Regions from separate parts of the Homo sapiens genome. Here region 1 is linked to region 2. The links are contacts of gene promoters, found by promoter capture Hi-C in human tissues and cell types (Jung and others, 2019). All regions are on one chromosome and are shown on one strand. The core of a region is centred on a gene start or on the middle of the fragment in contact, and the rest is flanking DNA. Distances in the headings are between cores, read along the strand shown.

Evidence for each region. Contacts are between HindIII fragments. The study calls those that stand out against the background at their distance.
Region 1: a fragment that was not itself captured here is called in contact with the fragment with the promoter of LRRC57 in region 2 in 1 of the 25 tissues and cell types used here (aorta).

Annotation. Positions count from the first base shown.
Region 1 is chr15:41,098,328-41,102,305 of GRCh38, forward strand. The region is part of intron 1 of INO80 (INO80 complex ATPase subunit); the gene reads right to left. Among named protein-coding and RNA genes, the nearest start is that of INO80, 16 kb to the right of the region's middle. The HindIII fragment of the contact is 3,775 bases long and covers 515-3,978 here.
Region 2 is chr15:42,547,233-42,551,210 of GRCh38, forward strand. It overlaps LRRC57 (leucine rich repeat containing 57), which reads right to left and starts at 1,561. Exons shown (of 6, transcript NM_153260.3): 1 at 1,461-1,561; 2 at 1,119-1,224; 3 at 874-1,012; 4 at 29-297. The coding sequence starts at 1,202. It overlaps HAUS2 (HAUS augmin like complex subunit 2), which reads left to right and starts at 1,606. Exons shown (of 6, transcript NM_018097.3): 1 at 1,606-1,733. The coding sequence starts at 1,641. RefSeq lists an enhancer at 1,397-1,866. The HindIII fragment of the contact is 5,139 bases long and covers 1-3,978 here.

The DNA of each region.
Region 1 (3,978 bases), core at 1,152-3,651, 1.4 Mb before region 2:
AAAATTAGCCCATGCGAATTAAAAATGTTTACACTTTAAAATATATCATTAAGAAAATGAAGACAAACTAGGCACAGTGGCTCATGCCTGTAATCCCAGCACTCTGGGAGACTGAAGTGGGAGGATCACTTCAGCCCAGGAAAACAAGATCAACCTGGGCAACACAGTGAGATCTCATCTCTTCAAAAGAATTTAAAATTAGCTGGGCATGGTGGCACAGGCCTCTGGACAAACTATTCGGGAGGCTGAAGTGGGAGGATCACTTACAGCCCAGGAGGTTGAGGCTACAGTGAGCCATGATCTTGCAACTGTACTCCAGCCTGGGTGACAAAAAAAAGAAAAAGAAAATGAAGACAAGCCACAGACTAGAAGATACTTGCAAATCATCTATCTGATAAAGGTCTTGTATCCACATATACAACTTTTTTTTTACACAGTTGTTTGTCAGTGTGTACACATAAAACCTACAACTCTATAAGATAAATAACCCAATTTAAAAATGAGCAAAAGATTTTGAACATTTTACCAACAAAGATGTATGACTAGCTAATAGACACATGAAAAAATGCTAAATATTAATAAATTAAAATTAAAGCACCATACTACTTCATACCCACTAGAATAATAAAAAAGACAGGCTAGACACAGTGGCTCTCACCTATAATCTCAACATTTAGGAGGCTGAAGTGGGTGGATCCCTTGAGCCCAGGAGTTTGAGACCAGCCTGGGCAACATAGCAGGACCGTGTCCCTACAAAAAATTTAAAAATTAGCCAAGTATGGTGATGCGTGCCTGTAGTGCCAGCTACTCAAGAGGCTGAGGTGAGAGGATTGCTTAAGCCCAGGAAGTCAAGGCTGCAGTGAGCTATCATTGTGCCACTGTGCTCCAGCCTGGAGTAAGACCCTGTCTCAAAAAAAAAAAAAAAAAAAAAAAAAAAAAACAAACACACACACACACACACAACAAGAGAGTGAGAGAGAGGGAAAGAAAAAGGGAAAAAAAAAATGTTCCAAACTCCCATTGTGGCGATAGTTCCACAATTCTGTAAATCTACCAAAAATATATTCAAAATATACTGAACTGTATATTTTATTTAAATTATGTGAATTTCATAGTTTGTAAATTGTCAGTCTTGGTAATATAAAGAAAAAAGAATGCTAAAAAATACTTTTGGCCAGGAGCAGTGGCTGAAGCTTGTAATCCCAGCACTTTGGGAGGTGAGGCAGGAGGAGAGCTTGAGCCCAAGAGTTCAAGACCAGCCTGAGTAACATGGCGAGACCTTGTCTCTACAAAAAAATTTAAAAATTAGCTGAGTGTAGTGGCATGCACCTGTAAACCCAGCCACTTGGGAGGCTGAGGAGGGAGGATGGTTTGAGCCCAGGAGGTTGAGACCTCAGTAAGTCATGAACGCACCACTGTACTCCAGCCTGCATAACAGAGTGAGACTATCCAAAAAAAAAAAAACTTTAAATTTCACCTTTTCAAAATGAGACCTAACGTGTACCCACCCACTCCAGAAGATTTCAAAGAAATTGGTTTTTAAAATACAACAAAACTCCCTTAAGAGAACAGCAAATAATTCATCTTGATACATGTATAAATGTAAAACTACTCTGCTTGGCTCCATCCCAAGCTTTTATTACAGAACAATTAATCCATGCTCTAGTTATTTTACCTGATAAGGAAAATGACACTAATTAAGGAGGTATGACTACCAAGTAATACGGAGTGATTCGAAATGAATGGAATATTTTCTTTTCTTTTTTTTTTGAGACAAAGTCTTGTAGCCGAGGCTGGAATGCTGTGGCCCAATCTCGGCTCACTGCAAGCTCTGCCTCCCAGGTTCACGCCATTCTCCTGCCTCAGCCTCCCGAGTAGCTGGGACTACAGGCGCCTGCCACCACGCCAGGCTAACTTTTTGTATTTTTAGTACAGACGGGGTTTCACTGTGTTAGCCAGGATGGTCTCGATCTCCTGACCTCGTGATTCGCCCGCCTCGGCCTCCCAAAGTGCTGGGATTACAGGTGTGAGCCACTGTGCCCGGCCAATGAATGGAATATTTTCAAAACTTATTCCTCAGTACCTATGTGAGTATGAAATCAAAAACAATTTGTTGAAGAAAGATCACAGTTAACTTCTAGTCTTACAATCCTCAATATATGCTCCCTTTTGACACCCAGTATACATCAGTCCTGTCAACTGATTCATCCCAGAAATCATCTTTGCAGCATATCACCACTGATGGCTGAAATGACAGCTGCAATGAATTCCCTTATGTCCACAATACCACCAAAAAAAGGTGCTGTAAGCACAAAATTCTCCACAAGAAGTCCTATGATGACATCTGGAGAACCAAGTTATATTTTTTAAGTGTTCAATTTTTTTCTTTATGGTGGCAAAAGACATAAAACTTACCATTTTAACCATTTTTAAGTGTACACTTCAGTGGCATTATATACATTCACATTGTTGTGCAACCATTACTACCATTCACAATTTTTTCTTTTTTTTTTTTTTTTGAGACAGAGGCTCCCTCTGTCGCCCAGGCTGGAGCACAATGGGGTGATCTCCGCTCACTACAATCTCCGCCTCCTGGGTTCAAGTGATTCTCTCACCTCCAGCCTCCCAAGTAGCTGGGACTACAGGCGCACCCCACCACACACAGCTAATTTTTGTATTTTTAGTAGAGATGGAGTTTTACCATGTTGGCCAGGCTGGTCTCAAACGCCTGGCATCAAGTGATCCACCCACCTCAGCCTCCCAAAGTAGTGGGATTATAGGCATGAGCCACCCACCCGGCTGACAATCATTTCTTAATCACCTTTTAAGATTGCTGGCCTCTCAATTCAGCCTAGTCTTGATTAGCATGTTAAAAGCTGCTGCTGCAATAACCACTTTCATCTCCTCATTTGTCTCTTATTCCCTACAAGGAAACTGCATGGCCATCAACCTGACCCATCTGTTATCGTCCAACTTCAGCAAAACACTTGATAATTCTCAATAACCCTTTTACCCACCTTCTACCAATTGTTTCTCATTCTCTACCAAGATTACTTCAAATCTTTTTTCCCTCTTCCTCAAAATGCTGAAGTCATTCCCCGCTCATCTTGGAAGAGCCTGAAGAGCAAATCATTCCATCCTCTTTTATTTCACCTTAGCTCAATAGTTTCCTCTTACTTGCTGTGATATTTGAGTCACCAACACAAACAGACTTTATTTGTAACTTTTTTTTTTTTTTTTGAGACAGAGTCTTGCTCTGTCACCCAGGCTGGAGTGCAGTGGCGAGATCTCTGCTCACTGCAAGCTCCGCCTCCCAGGTTCAAGCCATTCTCCTGCCTCAGCCTCCCGAGTAGCTGGGACTGCAGGCGCCCGCCACAACGCCTGGCTAAGTTTTTTTGTATTTTAGTAGAGACGGGGTTTCACTGTGTTAGCCAGGATGATCTCGATCTCCTGACCTCGTGATCCACCCACCTCGGCCTCCCAAAGTGCTGGGATTACAGGCGTGAGCCACCGCACCCGGCCTATTTGTAACTCTTAGTCAAGGTGATTCTCCATACTAGTACAAAAGATATGACTATTTCTTGGCGGGCATGGTGGCTCATGCCTGTAATCCCAGCACTTTGGGAGGCTGAGACGAGCAGATTACAAGGTCAGGAATTCGAGACCAACCTGGCTAACACAGTGAAATCCCGCCTTTACTAAAAATACAAAAAAGTAGCTGGGCTTGGTGGCACGCACCTGTAGTCCCAGCTACTCAGGAGGCTGAGGCAGGAGAATCGCTTGAACCTGGGAGGTGGAGGTTGCAGTGAGCCAAGACTGTGCCACTGAACTCCAGCCTGGGCAACAAAGCAAGACTCCATCTCAAAAAAAGAAGATACGACTATGTCTTATGTCACTTATTATGGGTTCATGCCCATGCATTTGCATTTTAAAGTACATACTGTGTAAGTTACTTTATTTATGTTTCCCCAATATATT
Region 2 (3,978 bases), core at 311-2,810:
TAGGAAAAAAAACCTTAAAGCTCTAGACCTGATTCTGGTTGAGGTTGAGTTCGATGACTTGCAGCTCTCCCACTGAGTCAGGTATACTTCGAATCTGGTTCTTAGAGAGATCCATCACATCCAGGTGCCGTAGGCTACAAAGTTGGGGAGGTAATGCTCCCAGTTGGTTCCCAGAGAGGCTCAGGGTCTTGAGGGCAGAGAGTTGCCCAAAGGTAGACGGCAGCTCTCTAAGGTGATTGTTGTTTAGGCTTAGCGTCTCTAGTTTTTTCAGATTGCATATCTCATCAGGCAGAACAGCTGGCAAAGAAAAATTTTTTTAAAACCTGAATGTGATAGAGCTGAAAACAACTTTGATGAAGTTTATAAAGACTATATGGCAGCCTGCTTCGCCTCTTGTTAATATATGTAAAACTCCCACATGTGCCATTTTTAGATATTGCATTTTACCAACATAGTCTTTAGAAGGTGAGGGTGCCATCAAAATGCCGGAGAGCATTTGTGTGTATAATGGGCTCCTTTTGTAAAGGGGCCCAAGGCACAATCCGACAGCAATTTTGTGATATTTGGAAGATCCTCCCCTTCTCATCCATCCCCCATTCCAAGTTAGGTAGCTTTGTTTACATTACATCCCCAAAATGTTCTTCTCTTTCAAGTCCAAATTAACCCAGTAACAATCATTATAACACCCAATCATTATAAGGCTTATTTTAGATGTAATTACAAGAAGTAGAAAGAAGGCTTCAAGGATTCCGGCATTCGCAACTTGAGCCCTCCTGCACGGTTTCATAACAAAAACAAAAATCAGCTTGTAAGAGAAAACCACCCCTGGTAACAGCTGATCACTAGCAAAAGCCTCCCTGGCGAGAGCCATACTCAGTTTGTTGTTGTTCAGGGAGAGGCTCTTCAGCAGAGTGAACTTTCCTATCAGCAAAGGCGGTAGGCTTTCGATCTTGTTGTTGGACAAGTCGATGGTCCTGAGATTGCTCGTCAGCTTCTGCAAGTCTGCGGGGAACTGGAGAAAGGAGTTCACAGCGTGGGGAATCCCGCACCGACTAAGTTCGCCGCCCCCGCCGTCCCTCTCCCTTTAAGTTCCCTGGTCGTGTCCCTCCCAGTCTCACCTCGGTCAGCCCTCGGTCCTTAAGCTGAAAGACACCAGTTTTCTGCGCCGTTTCCACATGAGCGCGGAGCGCACTGTTTCCCATCCTAGCGCCGCGGCTCAGGTCCCTGCGGGAAGGAAGCGCTGCTGTCACCGCCCAGTCCACCCGGTCGGCCTCCCGGCTGGGGCTCCTGCCCCAGCTCTCAACTCCCGCCGATCCCTGGCTCCTGGGGCCCGACCCAAGAGCGACAAGGAAGAAACGGAAGAACACACAGCCCGACCACCAAGCCCTGCCGCCTTTGCAGCTCTGCGGAGGCCAGGCGCCTCTGGGAGCCTACGGAAGATCAGGGAGCCCCGGACTCGCCTCCCACCGCTCAGCTGCCGTAAGGCTCCGCAGGTGAAGACCCAGGACCCGCAGTAGCCGGGATGCGCTCCCCGGCTTAGTCCCGGGCGGGAACGCCCTGTGACGTCATCGAGCCGCGCCGTGCGTTCGCCCTGCGATCCCGCTCACTCTTGGCGCCTTCGCGGAAGGTGCGTCCGAGCCATGGCCGCTGCCAACCCGTGGGACCCGGCGTCCGCGCCTAACGGCGCTGGGCTAGTGCTAGGCCACTTCATAGCTTCGGGGATGGTCAATCAGGTACGTGGGGGTGGCGGTGGTGTCATCAAGGGGGTGCCCAAGGTGGCAACAATATGGCTGTGAGTTGGTGCTGCTGGCTGTGGGAGTGGTGAGGGTCCTGGTTGGGGTCTGTACTAGAGTAATAAGAGCCCCTTCCAGGCAACAGCCGCGAACGTTCTGCCGTGGATGCTTGGAAAGCGGGGATCTGAGTAGATGGTGTTTAGGGTAGACTGTGTTTTGAGTGTCTGTAGGGTAAATTTGTCCCAGTCCAGTTTGTGGGAGATTAGACTGTTACCAGCCTTTTTTTCATCCAGTGATACTGCCTCTAGACTGTAGTGTAAGGGCGGGGATGGGAAATACGGGTCGTTCTGTCCCCTTGCGGAACAAGCATTTCCAACAACCCTCGTTTGTGGGAAGTGTTGAATCGTATTTGGGGCGGGAGGTGCTGGGTAGAGAAGAGCGCCAGAAGCTCTTTTTTGACATTTTTATTTTATTTTATTATTTATTTATTTATTTATATGAGACAGAGTCTCGCTCTAACGCCCAGGCTGGAGTGCAGTGGCGTGGTCTCGGCTCACTGCAACCTCCGCCTTCCTGGTTCAAGCGATTCTCCTGCCTCAGCCTCTGGAGTAGCTGGGACTACAGGCGCCCACCACCACACCCAGCTAATTTTTTTTTGTATGTTTAGTAGAGACGGGGTTTCACCTTGTAAGCCAGGATGGTCCCGATCTCCTGACCTCGTGATCCACCCGCCTCGGCCTCCCAAAGTGCTGGGATTACAGGCGTGAGCCACCGCGCCCGGCCTTGGCATCTTTAAAGGCAAAAAAAAAAAAAAAAAAAAAAAAGTATTGGCTAAAAAGATAAGACCTTGGAACGTGAATGGAGGAAGAGATTAATTTTGAGAAGGAGAGAAAAGAGACATTAACCCAAGGAGTCACGGAGTGGCAGTTTTAGGTTGGGCAAGAGGAGCATGTCGGAGGAAGGAGCCAACAGAGGGAGAAATTGAACATGTGAGGAAATAATGGAATGCAGTGACAGGAGGGCATGGGGCAAGTGGGATCAAGGGCATTGAGAAAAATGGGGAAATAAATTTTGATATATAGAGGAAGTTGAGAAATTTCACTAAAAAGAAAACAGAAAAGTTAAACTGATCTGTAAAAATCAGCACATATTAGCCGGCATGGTGGCGTACACCTGTAGTCCCAACTACTCCGCGGACCACATGGGTCCTGGAGGCTCAGATGGGAAGATGGCTTGAGCTTAAGAGATGGAGGTTGCAGTGAGATGCGATCGGGCCACTGCACTTAGCCTGGGCGACAGAGTGAGACCCTGTCTCAGGGAAAAAAAAAAAAAAAAAAGCACTACAAACATGATGGAAGATTTACGGAAAATACATAACTTTTTATAGTCAGAAGAGCCATTAGAGACTCTAATACCTTACAGTATTTTTTAATTTAAGAAACTAAGGCTTAGACCAAGAAACTTGCCCATGGTCACTAGACTGTTAAAGGAGAATTAGATCTTAGTACTCTCCCTTTTGACACATTGTATCCCCTCTCAAGATGAACTGTTATAAGAGGCTGTGATACTGTATTAAAAGATTTTAAGCTTTTGTTGAACACCCATTGTCTGGGTGATGGGGAGATTCAGGTGGTCCTAGTTGACTAACTTTACCAGGAGTGACCACAGCACTCTACAGTGTAATCCTTCCTCCCTTCTCTCCTGTGTTTTCTTTTTTTTTTGAGACGGAGTCTCGCTCTGTTGCCCAGGCTGGAGTGCAGTGGCACAGTCTTGGCTCACTGCAAGCTCCACCTCCTGGGTTCATGCCATTCTCCTGCCTCAGCCTCATGAGTAGCTGGGACTACAGGTGCTCACCACCTCACCCGGCTAATTTTTGTATTTTTAGTAGAAATGGGGTTTCACCATGTTAGCCAGGATGGTCTCGATCTCCTGACCTCGTGATCTGCCTGCCTCTGCCTCCCAAAGTGCTGGGATTACAGGCGTGAGCCACTGCACCCGGCCCTCTCCTGTATTTTCTTTTTCTTTTCTTTTCTTTTTTTTTTTTTTCTGAGACATAGTCTCCCTCTGTTGCCCAGGCTGGAGTGCAGTGGTGTGATCTTGGCTCACTGTACCCTCTGCCACCTGGGTTCAATCAATTCTCGTGCTCCCGAGTAGCTGGGACTACAGGCACCTGCCATCACACCTGCTAATTTTCATATTTTCAGTAGAGACGGGGTTTCACCATTTTGGCCAGGGTAGTCTCAAA